Regions from separate parts of the Homo sapiens genome. Here all the other regions are linked to region 1. The links are contacts of gene promoters, found by promoter capture Hi-C in blood cells and fetal thymus (Javierre and others, 2016). All regions are on one chromosome and are shown on one strand. Each heading gives the region's core, a stretch centred on a gene start or on the middle of the fragment in contact. The rest is flanking DNA. Distances are from core to core; before and after follow the strand shown. Region 1 holds the start of RAB3GAP1 (RAB3 GTPase activating protein catalytic subunit 1). Region 2 overlaps R3HDM1 (R3H domain containing 1). Region 3 overlaps R3HDM1 (R3H domain containing 1).

Region 1 (4,655 bases), core at 1,033-3,532:
CTTACATTCATTCTTACAGGCAAAAAACTACAGTTCACATTTGATTTTTCCCACTTTTAACGTATCATCAAGTTTATTACCTAAATCTTCTCTGAAATATGTTACAATCCTCCCTTCTAGGTTCCCTTTGTATTCCAGTCCACAAATCACCATCCTAATTATGAATCAAGTTAAGTCTCCCACCATTATTCTACATCATGTCCTAAAACCACTTTCATCATATCACCTGGCCACTCTAAAACGAAGGGTCTCTCACTATTGTCTTAAGCAGTGGTTCTTTCTAAGTGTGGTCTCCTGACCAGCAGCATCTGAATTACCTGAGACCGTGTTACACAAGCAAAATTTTCAGTCCCACCTCAGACCTACAGAATCAGAAACTCTGAGGATGGGGCCCAGCAATCTAAGACTCTGATGTACATTAAAGTATGAGAATCACTGGTCATAGGAATACTGAATCTGGATTCCTGTATTTAGTTTGGGAAGATGTCCATAACCCAATCCCGTCTTCCTTGTTAACCTTATTTATTTCCCTTCAATAGACAGTCTTCACTCTAGTGAAGATATATTTCTTCATTCAGTCCCTTCAAAGATTCATTCTCACCTATGTCTCTACCCATGTCAGTCCATTCTCATGTTTAACCAACCACTTCCCACTTTCAAGGCCCAGCTCATTTCCTATCTTTTCTATGAAAATATCTCCAACTATTGTAGTCCACAATATCACCCCTATTTAAATAATAATTATTTTAATTATTATTTTTACAGGTAGTACCAACTGGCTTACATTTTAACTATTTGCTGTTTGTTGTTTTTTAAAAATATATGGGTCAAGTTTCTGCTTTTCCCTTTGTATATAGCTCTGGACACCCAGTACCTACTCAATGAAGTCTTGCCAGTGTGGTTATGTCTTACTGACACTTTTATGAAGGGTACCACAGGTCTAACTATTATTCCAACAAGGACCTTTTATATTTTCCTGTGCCACCTAATGACACGACATCCACAAATTTCCTCTCCCAACCAGAAAGATTATAAAATGCTGTAACAGCGTAAACACTGACTTCAACACCCAGGAAACTGAAGGGTTTCTGTGACACTTAACAGAAACCTTCTCGATCTAAGCTATCACTCCTCCACAAACTTGGCTTTCAACTAATTTCAGTAATAGAACAGTTTCACCCAGACAGCTGTTCATCTGAATTTGACAGGCACAGGAAGCCTGGGCACAGTACCCACTTTAATGTAACAACTTAAATCAAAGCATTCCAAAACCATATGCAGACTTTTTAAAAAGGTTATTCTAAAAGACAGGATGGGCGGAGGCTCACGCCTGTAATCTCAGCACTTTGGGCGGCCCAGGCTTGAGCCCAGGAGTTCAAGACTAGCCTGGGCAACACAGCGAGATCTTTAAAAAATTAGTTGGGCGTAATAGCGCGTGCCTGTGGTCCCAGCTCCTCCCGAGGCTAAAGCGGGAGCTTCACTTGAGCCTAGGAGTTCGAGGCCGCAGTAAGCTATGACCTCGCCACTGCACTCCGGCCTGGGCGGACAGACTGAGACTCTGTCTCCAAAAATAAATAAAAATAAAAAATTAAAGACAGCATGGAGATGGTGGGAGTGTGACAGATGGACAACTACCAATACTCTGAAGAAAGACTTCCTCCTGAAAAGGGTATACCAACGTACACGGGATGAGGTGCGGCACAACCTACCAAGTTTACTGCTTACGATAATGAGTTAAACGGTAATGAAAACCGGAACGGTTGTTGCAGCCTCGGAAATTTTTCTTGCGAGTGGGTAACAACCAGAAAACCAAAGTCTAAGGGAAGCGGTCTGACAGGAGAGAAAACAAAACTTTCTGAGAGCCTGAGCCTCAGGGATTGGCTGACGGGGGCGGGCCGGGTGTTGCCAGACGCGAGACGCGGAAGAGGCTTGCGGTTGACCAAAGAAGACTGGGGGAGGAGACCCGGGACCCACGGTATTACCGTTCCCGCACAAGTGGCGTCACTTGTGGTGTGTCTGGGGTCAGGGAAGCGGCTAGGGGACGCCAGGGCCCATGGGAGCTGGTAACCAAAAATGCGATTCACTCACCTTTCCCATTCCGAGGCAGTGGTGAAGTCCGTGATCTCAAATACCTCGGATTCGGGCTGCGGGAAGGGGAAGGAGAGAAAAAGAAATTAAGCCCCAAGGCGAAGACATGAGGAACGAATTTAGATAGTGACAAGGATTAAGTAGGGAGCAAAGAAATCACCTCACTGTCGGCAGCCATCTTGAGGAGCGCCGGGCCTGGCGCTAAGGCTGCCGGGAAGAAGAGCGAAAGAGAACGGGGCGCGTCCCCGCCCCCGGAGCCCCCGCCCCCTGTTCATGAGTCTTGCCCTAGTAAGTAGGAGTGCTGCTTCTTCGCCCAGGTCTGTTAAGTCTTTAGTCCGCCCTCAGCTGGTTAATAAAACTCCGCTCTAGCTGGTTTCATAAAACTTGAAAATTTCCTGTGATGAATACAGAAAGGGAACAGAAGCCAAGGTGATAGGACAAGACCCTAAACTCATGTGGATAAGATTGTATTAAAAAACCTAAAGCATGTTGGGTTTGTTTTCATTCAACCCATATTTGTAGTTAGTACCAATTAGCTTACACTTTAACTATTGGGTTTCTTTTCATTCACCCTCTATTTATTGATTGTAAGGCAATAAACTAGGTGCTGTAATACCACTTCTACCCTCTGCCCCTGACCCTGCAAGAAGTTGCTCAGTTGATTGTCCTGAAATAAAATCATACTAGTTACCTGGTTTCTGGGAAGAGCAACATGGTGTTCAACAAACGCTTCATTTTTTTTTTTTTTTTTTTTTTTTTTTTTTTTTTTTTGAGACGGAGTCTTGCTCTGTCGCCCAGGCTGGAGTGCAGTGGCACGATCTTGGCTCACTGCAAGCTCCGCCTCCCGGGTTCACGCCATTCTCCTGCCTCAGCCTCCCGAGTAGCCGGGACCACAGGCGCTCGCCACCACGCCCGGCTAATTTTTTGTATTTTTAGTAGAGATGAGGTTTCATCGTGTTAGCCAGGATGGTCTCGATCTCCTGACCTCATGATCTGCCCACCTCGGTTCTGTCGCCAGGCTGGAGTGCAGTGGCGCGATTTCGGCTCACTGCAATCTCTGCCTCCTGGGTTCAAGTGATTCTCATGCCTCAGCCTCCCGAGTAGCTGGGATTACAGGCATGCGCCACAACACCCAGCTAATTTTTGTATTTTTGGTAGAGATGGGGTTTCACCATGTTGGCCAGGATGGTCCCGATCTCCTGACCTTGTGATCCGCCCCCCTCGGCCTCCCAAAGTGCTGGGATTACAGGTGTGAGCCACTGTGCCTGGCCTTGTCTTTATTTTAACACCTTCAAGTTATTTATATATATTCTGCATCTGAGCTTTATATTGTTTATATATGTAGCAAATACCTTCTCCCACTCTGCAGCTTGCTTTTTCACTATTTTTTTTTCAGACTGGTGCTCTAAAAAAGCAGACACTACAATTCCAAGCTGGCGAAGTCTCTGAAGTCCAACTGGAAGTGCTAGGGCAAAAATTATGCATCAGGAAATGCGTAGCCCCTTGTACTACTGCCTTGCTCCGTCAATCATTGGCCAGGATCTCCCCAAGAAAACAGTGGCCTTGGCTATCACTGTTTGCTCAGTTTTTGGCTGGAGGAAGCACTCCAAGAATAGCAGGTCCTTGGCTCAACAGTTAGACAAACCTGATAAACCCAACAGCCGTAGGCTGTTCATCTAACCACACGCCTTACAGCTGGGCAGTGAGTCTTTCTTTAAGGGAGGTCTGAGCAGCACATCTTTTGTGTCTGCCACTCTCTTTTAATAGACAGCCTCTTTTAACATGCACCTACAATGTTTTCGACATCCTGTGCTTTCTCTTTCCTCTGGACATGCTGTCGTTTAGAATCTGCAATGTCCTTGTGTCTATAGTTTACCTGGTAAAATTTGTCCTTCAAGTTTCAGCTTGGATATTTGCTCTTCTGTGAAGACTTTCTCTGCCCCCTGTTAGGAGCTTATTTGTATTTGCAACCAGTTTGGTGGTAATCGATTGGATTCTCACTCAAAATTCATATGTTGAAGCCCTAACTCCTAGTACCTCAAAATGTGACTGTATTTATGGACAGGGTGTTTAAAGAGGTGATTAAGTTAAAATTAGGCCGCTAGAGTGGGCCCTAATCCAATCTGACTAGTGTCCTTATGAGAAGAGATTAGGACACCAGGGATGTGCACACACAGAGGAAAGGCCATGTGGGGACACAGAGAGTAGGTGGCCACCTGCAAACCAAGGAGAGAGGCCTCAGGAGAAACCCAACCTGCTGATACCTTGGTCGTGGGCTTCTAGTCTTCAGAGCTGTGAGCAAATAAAAAAATATTTTTTTGAGATGGAGTCTTGCTCTGTCACCCAGGCTGGAATGCAGTGGTGAGATCTTGGCTCACTGCAACGTTCACCTGCCAGATTCAAGCAATTTTCCAGCCTCAGCCTTCTGAGTAGCTGGGATTACAGGCATGTGCCACCACATCCAGCTAATTTTTGTATTTTTAGTAGAGACAGCATTTCACCTTATTGGCCAGACTGGTCTCAAACTCCTGACCTCAGGTGATCAACCCTCCTCGGCCTCCCAGAGT
Region 2 (4,655 bases), core at 693-3,192, 600 kb before region 1:
GGCTGCTGTCATGATATAACCAGACTGCTGTGGAGACTGAAGAACCACAGTGGACTGGAACATGGCGGCATGAGGGTCAGAACCATCAGCAGATGGCTGGCGAGCAAGACTCATGTGGCTAAACTGAGACCCTAGGTTATCCTGCTAAAAAAGGAAGAAGTCAAAAATTAGTAAGCCTTCTACACATAGGCCAAACTTATCAAAGAAAAATACTTCCTATTTTTAAATAAGATGCAATAGTACACATTATGGAAATTATATATATCAACAACAGCAATTATGTAATAGGGTAAAGCTTCAAAAAAATGACAACTCTATTGTTGAATATTATAAATTATAAATTATTTAAAAAATATATCTAGTGGGAATGCACAGCATGCAGAAAAGAGTAGGGTACAACATTTCACATTAAAAAATGAAGACATTTATTTAAATGAAGATGAAAGCAACATTAGAATGTAGAAGTGAAATTGGCCAAGTTCATATTATACAATTAATATTTTCTGAAAGGACTTCAAAGACCAAGCAATGAGCAAGGTACTAATTAGTATTTGCTTTAAACTATCTCCCCTCTTCCTAGAAGGCAAAATGCAAATTCTATGCATTTTTGTATCCCTAACCACGAAAATTATTTGCAGAAATTAAATACATAAAATCCACTACAGTCCTTTCTCTAATCTTTCAAAAATAATTTGGCCATACATTCCATTCTTCCCTTGTGTTTTTCAATCTGTTCTGGAAGTCAGATAATTTGACAAATGTAATTCAAATGACAGTTTCCTATGCTTTTACTAAATGGTGCCCTACCAAGACAAGGGTTATGATTTATGTGCTATCTGACAAACATTTCTCTAATTCAACAGGATAAGGACCAGCTCTTATTGTTCCAGAAAAATATCACTGAAATGATTATATAGGGTTAAAATGCTCCCTGTTCCCAAGAAACCACAGACTGGCAATAAAATATACCACATTTTGTTAAAAGGTCAACACTGAAAAAAATGACTTACAAAATTGTGGCAATTGAGTCATCATATCAAAGTTGACATGTCTGCAGTTTCTAGATCTGCTGGATTTTCCAAAGTAAATTACGGCTATGGAGAAGATAAAGGACTGAAAGGAGATGCCTGATTTAATGATTGAAAATATATGGTTTTTCTCTTCCCCAACTGTCACTTTGACACTTTAACACTATTAGCCTAATTCAGTGAATGGTGTCAAAAGGAAAAAAAATGTACCTATGAACTGTAATTTCAATGTTATATGATCAAATATTGTTAACAGAAGTACCATAATTGTATACCACTCTCAGAGTCACCTTGGAAAAAAGTCATTTTCTTATTCCAATAAAAATTGGGGCATACTTTGGATAGAAGAAAGTATCATTACTTTACAGTCACAGATTAAATATCCAGAAATCTTCTTAGAAAATATACTTAGAAGTCCTCTGTAGCTGTAAGCTACAACTCACCCTAAGAACTGGTACTGGGTCTACTGGAGCTACAGTGTTGGGGAGAAAATAGAATGCCTAAACCCAGATGAAAGCTGCCATCCCAGGGCAGCACAGATCCTGCAGTGGCCTCAATGAGAAAGTTGCTAAAACATCTTAGGACTAGAATAATCAACCTGAAAATTCTTTCGTTATGAAAAAGCAGGAAAAGGTTAAACAATCACCATAATAAGCCACTATAACCAATATTTTATGGAATAAATTATTTCTAGTATGAATTAGAAATACTTTGTTTAGATACATATGTAAACCTGACCCAAAAAAAATCACAAAAGATCATATTACATTAATGACACTCTTGAGCATTCATCACACATCCACCCACAGAAACAACGCAGGAGGTGAATAGAGATATAGTACCACAGAGTATTGCTGGGTGGGTGAGACTGGCAGGAACGGGGATGGGTAAGGGGCTGTAGAGTACTGAACAGGCTGTGAAGAGGACTGCAGAGGATGAACAGGCTAAAGAATAACAGGTTGGCAAACAATGTTAATGTCAGAATAAAACGTTAGAAGAATTGCATAAAACGGAAATTTACACTTTTTTGGCAATAGCTTTAACTACATTTATAAAGTCATTTAAAATATAACAACATAGGAAACAACAAAAACAATACAAAGTGAAGCAACTCTAATACAGTAAAACTTTCAAAAACATGTACGCCTGAATTTATTACATAATTAGGAGAATAATTTTTTGCAATAAAATATTTCTTTATTATAGATTAACGGGAACAGGTGACTTAGGCATTTTGAATCCTATTATTTAACAAAGACCCCCGGGTTAAGTCAGTAAAAGCAAAACTACTTCTCATTATTTCCTGGTTTTATGAAAGGGTTGCCCTATTTTGCAGTATAACACTAAATTATAAATGAAAAACTTCATTCTTACTATCAGACAGTAATAACTTACACAATAACTATTCCAATTACCCTACTGATAAGGTGAAATTAAGCAGTCTTTTGGGACCAAAGCCCCTAACTTTTAGCAATTTTATAAGAAAAAAGCTCTGGGTAAAAAAATATATCCCAGCACTTTGGGAGGCCGAGGCGGGCGGATCACGAGGTCAGGAGATTGAGACCATCCTGGCTAACATGGTGAAACCCCGTCTCTACTAAAAAATACAAAAAATTAGCCGGGCATGGTGGCGGGCGCCTGTAGCCCAGCTACTCGGGAGGCTGAGACAGGAGAATGGCGTGAATCCAAGAGGCGGAGCTTGCAGTGAGCCGAGGTCGCGCCACTGCACTCCAGCCTGGGCGCCAGAGGGAGACTCCGTCTAAAAAAAAAAAAAAAAACCCAAATATATATATATGGTGGGAACTATTAAGAATAATAGCCTAAGGAACAACAAACACATATATACATACAGACACATGCACACACACACAAACACCTCTTTTATATAAGGAAGATAAACACTTTCTTTGTAATTAACACATTTCTATTAAGATAGTACATGTTAGGAGCTGAGAAACTAGTTACTTAAAATCTCTGGCCATTAATGAAATACTCCTGAGTTTCAGGAAAAAAAAGGGTTTTATGTTTCCCAGGGGCACTCAAACACAGGTGTTTTTTTTTTTTTTTTTAAAGTTGTAATCACTTTTCAATCTTGGGAATACAGCTGGTCATCCACAAACTAAAATTGCATCTGTTTAATTTTCTCATATTTATACTGTTTATTACAAAAACGGTAATATACATATTGGCTTAAAGACTATAGCAACCCACTTTACAGAAGGCAGTTAGACTAAGGTAAATTAAGTGACTTGTAGACAGCCACATAAGCAAGTAGATGAGGAACCCAGGGAATCTCACTTGATGAAAACTCTTAGTTAAAATGTATATTCATGCATCTCCTTCTGAACAATATCTCTGCATGTTGTCTTCAGAGACAATACTTTAAAAATGTTAGATAAACTAATGGAATTAAGATTGTTCAGGCAATAATTTAAATAGAGAACTTCTATGTCAACTAAGATAGACATTGTTTGTCTATGACATCATAGATAGATAATAATGATTTGAGTTGCACTTTTACCACAAAATCAACACAACGGTTTCTAAAAAACAAAAGCTTAGATAAGCTTAAAAGAAAGCAAAAAAATCTATAATTAAAGCATTAAAAAAATCTTTCAGTAAAAGCTGAAAGATCTATGAAGTAGCCTCTGGTTCCTCACAAAACTCATGGCTAGAAATAAGTGAGCTTCCTAACAGATGATAGTACATATTATACTACATGAGGTGCCATAGCTTTAGAACTCTCAAGAACAAGCTACTTGATGTGTTATTAAGTCAGATAACCATTAAGACATAACTTTCAGATGACTTGATCTCCTATGTGTCAGATGAAACAAAAGTTTTAGTCAGCTGGGGGATTAAGGAAAGTACTATGAGCACCAAGGGTATGAATTAATGTCTTCCCGAATTTCAGAGAGTAATGAAAAAAACTGTGGGCTAGAAGATTGATTGATGAAAGTGAAATTCTGACACCATTTAGGGAAGAAAGAGCCTTAGCACATCCTTTTCCTACTTGAATTGCAACTGGCTGCAAAACAACATCCACCTAAAGTAATTGGTTTTACGTTAGGTCTAAGAAAAGTAGCCCTTCTGAAGGCTTTGGAAATCATAGCATTATTTTGTTTGGTTATTTGCAATCTCATTGATAAATTATTTCAGATTGTGCAAAAGGTATTCATTGAGAATCACTTTTGAGTCTCTGTTTCTGGATCTGATGATGCATTACCTGAACTTGGAGCAATGCTAGAAAAATAAGTTATGAAATTTGATGAATATCCCAAGAATTCCAATTATAGCTCATTAAAGCATCTGTTTCTAAACTAGGTGGCCTACATCTTCATTTAGAACTGTCTCTTATCACTAAATCAGACAAAGTTCTAAGAGATAATAATCTGAAATATATAATCACAGATAAATCCCAGAGTTTTTAAAAGTTGCCAGATTAACATTATTTCCACTGAAATTTAAATAAAAATGAAACCAAATGAAAATTAGTGTTTTAAAGCTCCTGGTAAAATACATGGCACTGCAAAGACAACTACATGACAGCATAATAAAGAGGAAACTCTTTGGGACCAAGCTGACTGAAGCCAAGGCAGAGAAAGCCAGGGAAGAAGTTTTATGCGA
Region 3 (4,655 bases), core at 899-3,398, 520 kb before region 1:
TGAAGGCTCCTTCAGCACCTATGGAGACACTGAGTTTTCCTCACAAATCTATCAATAGGGAGTATGTTAATGAGTATCCTAACATTAAGCCAGCCCTGCATCCCTGAAATAAATCTCACATGGTCATGGTATATCACTTCACAATGATAATATTTAATTTAGCACTTCTGCATCAATATTCTTATGGGATGCTGATTTATAGCTTTCTTTTTTCAATACTGTTCTTACCAGGTTTAAGTATCAATACTATATTTGTTTCACAGAAATTCAGAAGCTTTCCAACATTCCAATGCTCTGGAACAATTTATGCAGCAGTGGAACTATCTGGTCTTTGAAGGTCTGATAGAATTGCTCTGTGAAACCATTCAGGTCTAATGCCTTTTGGTGGGATAGTTTAGAAGAATTATTTCTTTTATGGAAATTAGTCTCTTCAACTTCTCTAACTCCATGTTGGTAATATGCATTTCCCTAGAAAATTACTCATTTCATCTAGGTTTTCAAATAACTGCAGTGAGGTCTGCTAAGTAGTCTCTTGTGATTTTAAAATTTTTTAAAAATTATTTTTAGTGGTTATTTACCGCTTTATCTTATTTTGCATATCTATGTTTTACTCCTTTCCTTTACATGATTAAGTTAGCTAACCGTTTGTCTATTTTATAATTTTAAATTTTCAGAATACAGATTTGTTAGGTCTTGTTTTTCTATTCCCTACCTCATTAATTTCTGCTTTTATCCTTATTATTTCCTTCTGGGTATGCTCTTTAGGTTTACTTTGTTTTCCTAAATTTTGTTTTGAGCTGGAAATTTAATTCATTTATGTTCATTTTTTCAGATAAATGTGTTTACTGCTATAAATTTTTTTATTAAAGCACCATATTACTGGGATGTTTTACAAGATTCCTATTTTAACAGTGCCCTCTTCTGTTAGTATAGCAAAGTCCTGCCAATTATTTGTTTTGTTGTGGGGGGAACAGTTGGCTATGAATCCTGTAACTTTGTGGTTCTCTTTGTTTTGCTGCATTCTGAATTTCCTCCTTTGCTTTATTACCTTTTCACCACTCAACTGCCAAAGGGTGCTTCTCCTCTTCTTATGTACCTTCTTTTTCTCCCCTATAAGCTACGCACTTTGAAGACTGCCTCTTCAGATTGTATGTATTTTTAAGTCCCTCCCTTATAATCCCTACTCTTATTCTATTTGGAAACCTTAAAAAAAAAAAAAAGAATTTTCAGACTTAGGATGGACTTCTTCTGGCTGAACATTTAGATAACGTTAAGATTCCCTCTCCATTTTGTGTTCATTTTTCTTTGCCTGTGCTTGCCACAAAGTCTTGCGGCAGGCAGGAGCTGAATGGGAGTATGAAGAGATCACATGCCAGGATCTGGTGAGTGCTCTCTTTTTAGTTACAGTTATACTGAAGTCTTAAATTCTCTTCAAGTTATGCTATGTCTTCAAATTCTGTATAGATTTTTGTCCTTCTTATTCTATATTTATTTGAAGGAAAATTGGGAGGCAGTAGATCGATGACCACTACTGTCTTTAGCTATTTGGAAGTCCTCCTTGAAAATTTTCTTTTGGTAACAGCTTATCGACATACAAACGACATGTCATATAATTGCCCATTTAAAGTGTATAATTCAATACTTTTTAGTATATTCATAGTTATGTAACAATCACAATCAATTTTAGAATATTTTCATCATCCCATAGAGCAACTGCCCTCTTTAGCTATTGCCTCCTAATTCCTCCATTCCCCATCCAGCCCGAGACAACCACTAATCTACTGTCTCTATAGATTTACCTATTCTAGGCATTTTATATAAATGGTATCATACAATATATGGTCTTTTGTGGCTGATTTCCTTCACTTAGCACAGTGATATCAAGAGTCATCCAAGCTGTAGGATTTATCAGCAATTCATCCTTTACAGTGAAAATAATATTCCATTTCATGGATACACATTTTGTTTATCCATTTGTCAGCTGATAACATTTGTCTTGTTTCCATCTATTGATTATTATAAATATGCTGCTATGAACATTCATGTATTATGCAAATTTTTGTGAGAACACGTTTTCATTTCTCTTGCCTATATATCTGGGTTGACTTGTTGGGTAAAATGACAACCCTGTTTCCCCAGCAATTTGTGTACAATTTAACATTCCCAAGAGCAATGTAGGACGGTTCCAATTTCTCCACATCCTTACCAATTCTTGTGTGTGTTGTTTTATTATAGTCATCCTAGTGGGCATGAAGTTGTATCTCATTGTGGTTTTGATTTCAATTTTGGTTTTGATTTACATTTCCTTGATGGCTAAAATGTTGAGTATCCTTCTATGTGCTTATTGGCCTTATGTGTATCTTCTCTGGAAAAATATCTATTCAGATCATTTGCCCCTTTTAAATTGGGTTATGTGTCTTTACTATTGAGTCATAAGAGCTCCTTATGTATTCTGTATACACGTCCTTTATCATTTTTTAAAATTTTGCAGGCTGGGGCCAGGTGCAGTGGCTCATGCCTGTAATCCCATCACTTTGGGAGGCCAAGGTTGGGTCACTTGAGGTCAGGAGTTTAAGACCAGCCTGGCTAACACGGTGAAACTCTGTCTCTACAAAAACCAAAAAAATTAGCTGGGCGTGGTGGTGTGTGCCTGTAATCCCAGCCACCTGGGAGAAGCCAAGGCAGGAGAATTGCTTGAACCCGGGAGGTGGAGGTTGCAGTGAGCCGAGATGGCACCACTGCACTCCTGGATGACGTGGTGCCTGGATGACGAAGTGAGACACTGTCTCGAAATAAAATAAAATAAAACAAAATAAAATTCTGCAGGCCACATGTAGTGGCTCACACCTATAATTCTAGCATTCTGGGAAGCCAAGGCGGGTAGATCGCTTGAGTCCAGGAGTTCGAGACTAGCCTAGGCAGCATGGTGAAACCCCGTCTCTACAAAACATACAAAAATTAGCCAGTATGGTAGAGTGTGCCTGTAGTCCCAGCTCCGTTGGGGGTTGAGGTGAAAGGATCGCTAGAGCCCCAGGGGTAGAGGCTGCAGTGAGCTGTGATTGTGCCACTGCACTCTGGCCTGGGCAAGAGAGTGAGACCCTGTCTTAAAAAAGTAAATAAAATTAGGCCGGGTGCAGTGGCTCACGTCTGTAATCCTAGCACTTTGGGAGGCTGAGGCGGGCGAACTGCCTGAGCTCAGGAGTTCGAGACCAGTCTGGGCAACGTGGTGAAACCTGGTCTCTACTAAAATACAAAAAATAAGCCGGGTGTGGTGGTGTGCGCATGTAGTCCCAGCTACTCGGGAGGCTGAGGCAGAAGAATTGCTTGAACCGGGGAGGTGGAGGTTGCAATGAGCCGAGATTGTGCCACTGCACTCCAGCCTGGACAACACAGCAAGACTCCAGCTCTAAAAAATAAATAAATGAATAATTAAAAAAAAATAATAAAATAAAATTTTGCTAGTAAACATCCTGTAAATCTTTTATCAGATACATGGTTTGTGAATATTTTTTTCCATCTGTGAAAATATTTCACTTTCTTGATGGCATCCTATAAAATATAAAACTTTTTAATTTGATGAAACCCAATTTATCTGAATCTGACATACTTGAAAAACATTTTTCAACAAACATTTTATATTCCTCATTAACTAAAAAAATATGTCGCAACTCCAGGAATTTCTGGCAGTATAGGCATGTTTTAAAAAACAATGTATAGTTATTTTTGGCCTCAAGAAAAGTAAATAAAAAATGCTAATAAGTATATTGACTTTTCTGAGGGGTCAAAATGCAATTTTTGATCAAGTCATTGCCTAAATGAGTCTTCCCACCATTAGGCTACAACACACACGTTGAAAATACTTTTGTGACACTTCAGGCTAGATGATTTTTTAAAAACGAAAATAGTTTTAAAATTAAGACAACAAAGCTAAATAAAAGAGCAAAGGACCTGGAACAATAAAATTGTACATTTGATGGCATGTAAGAGCAACAAGGACTTTGTCAATACTGGCAAGAAGCTTTATTACACATAATCTCTACAACGAAGTCTGTGAATTACTTAATTTCTATCTTCTTGTGCTCATTTCTACAACTTTGGGAGAACTAATTTTTATCCTAGGTCCTCAGACAGTTGTAAAGGGGAACTGATTCTAGCATTAGGTGTGGGATGCACAATGCAATCCATAATTTGTTTTTCCAAAAAAGTTCTTCTTTCCCTTTGAGTATATAAACAAGTTTTCTCTCCTCTTTTCAGCTGCTAATTAAGTTATACAAAATAGATTCTTGAGAGGCTGAAGGTAACTGTAACACAGTCATCTAATCACTAACAGAAATCAAATGAAAGATTTTTTGTTTGCAAGTACATGGGCCACAAAGTAGAAGGCAATATTTGCTTATGTATTCCTACAGCATACAGACACATCATTACACATGGAAGATACTTTACTACCCTACATGACATTTAATACTGAGATAACTGAACTTGTGTAGCAAATGAAAGGTCAGAGAATTATTCTAGATGCAGTTGGTGGAACACAAGCTTAAGTGGCAGAAAATAAGAATAATTTAGTTGTTTAAAATTCCTCATCTCAAATATCCTAGTAAATAAAAGAGATGTTTACAATCAATAGTTAATTCAAAATCATCAGCTGAGGA

What was found. Contacts are between HindIII fragments. The CHiCAGO score rates a contact against its expected background, and 5 or more counts as called.
Region 2: a fragment that was not itself captured here is called in contact with the fragment with the promoter of RAB3GAP1 in region 1 in 4 of 17 cell types (naive CD4 T cells, total CD4 T cells, non-activated CD4 T cells and 1 more); the score reaches 7.2 in naive CD4 T cells.
Region 3: a fragment that was not itself captured here is called in contact with the fragment with the promoter of RAB3GAP1 in region 1 in 1 of 17 cell types (fetal thymus); the score reaches 5.5 in fetal thymus.

The regions. Positions count from the first base shown.
Region 1 is chr2:135,049,919-135,054,573 of GRCh38, reverse strand. RAB3GAP1 (RAB3 GTPase activating protein catalytic subunit 1) reads right to left here and starts at 2,282. Exons shown (of 24, transcript NM_012233.3): 1 at 2,249-2,282; 2 at 2,089-2,144. The coding sequence starts at 2,266. RefSeq lists an enhancer at 1,570-1,709. The HindIII fragment of the contact is 10,130 bases long and covers 1-4,655 here.
Region 2 is chr2:135,647,219-135,651,873 of GRCh38, reverse strand. R3HDM1 (R3H domain containing 1) reads right to left here. Exons shown (of 27, transcript NM_001378107.1): 17 at 1,871-1,972; 18 at 1-144. Among named protein-coding and RNA genes, the nearest start is that of MIR128-1, 16 kb to the left of the region's middle. The HindIII fragment of the contact is 3,290 bases long and covers 298-3,587 here.
Region 3 is chr2:135,570,096-135,574,750 of GRCh38, reverse strand. All of the region lies in intron 1 of R3HDM1 (R3H domain containing 1), which reads right to left. Among named protein-coding and RNA genes, the nearest start is that of R3HDM1, 41 kb to the right of the region's middle. The HindIII fragment of the contact is 3,744 bases long and covers 277-4,020 here.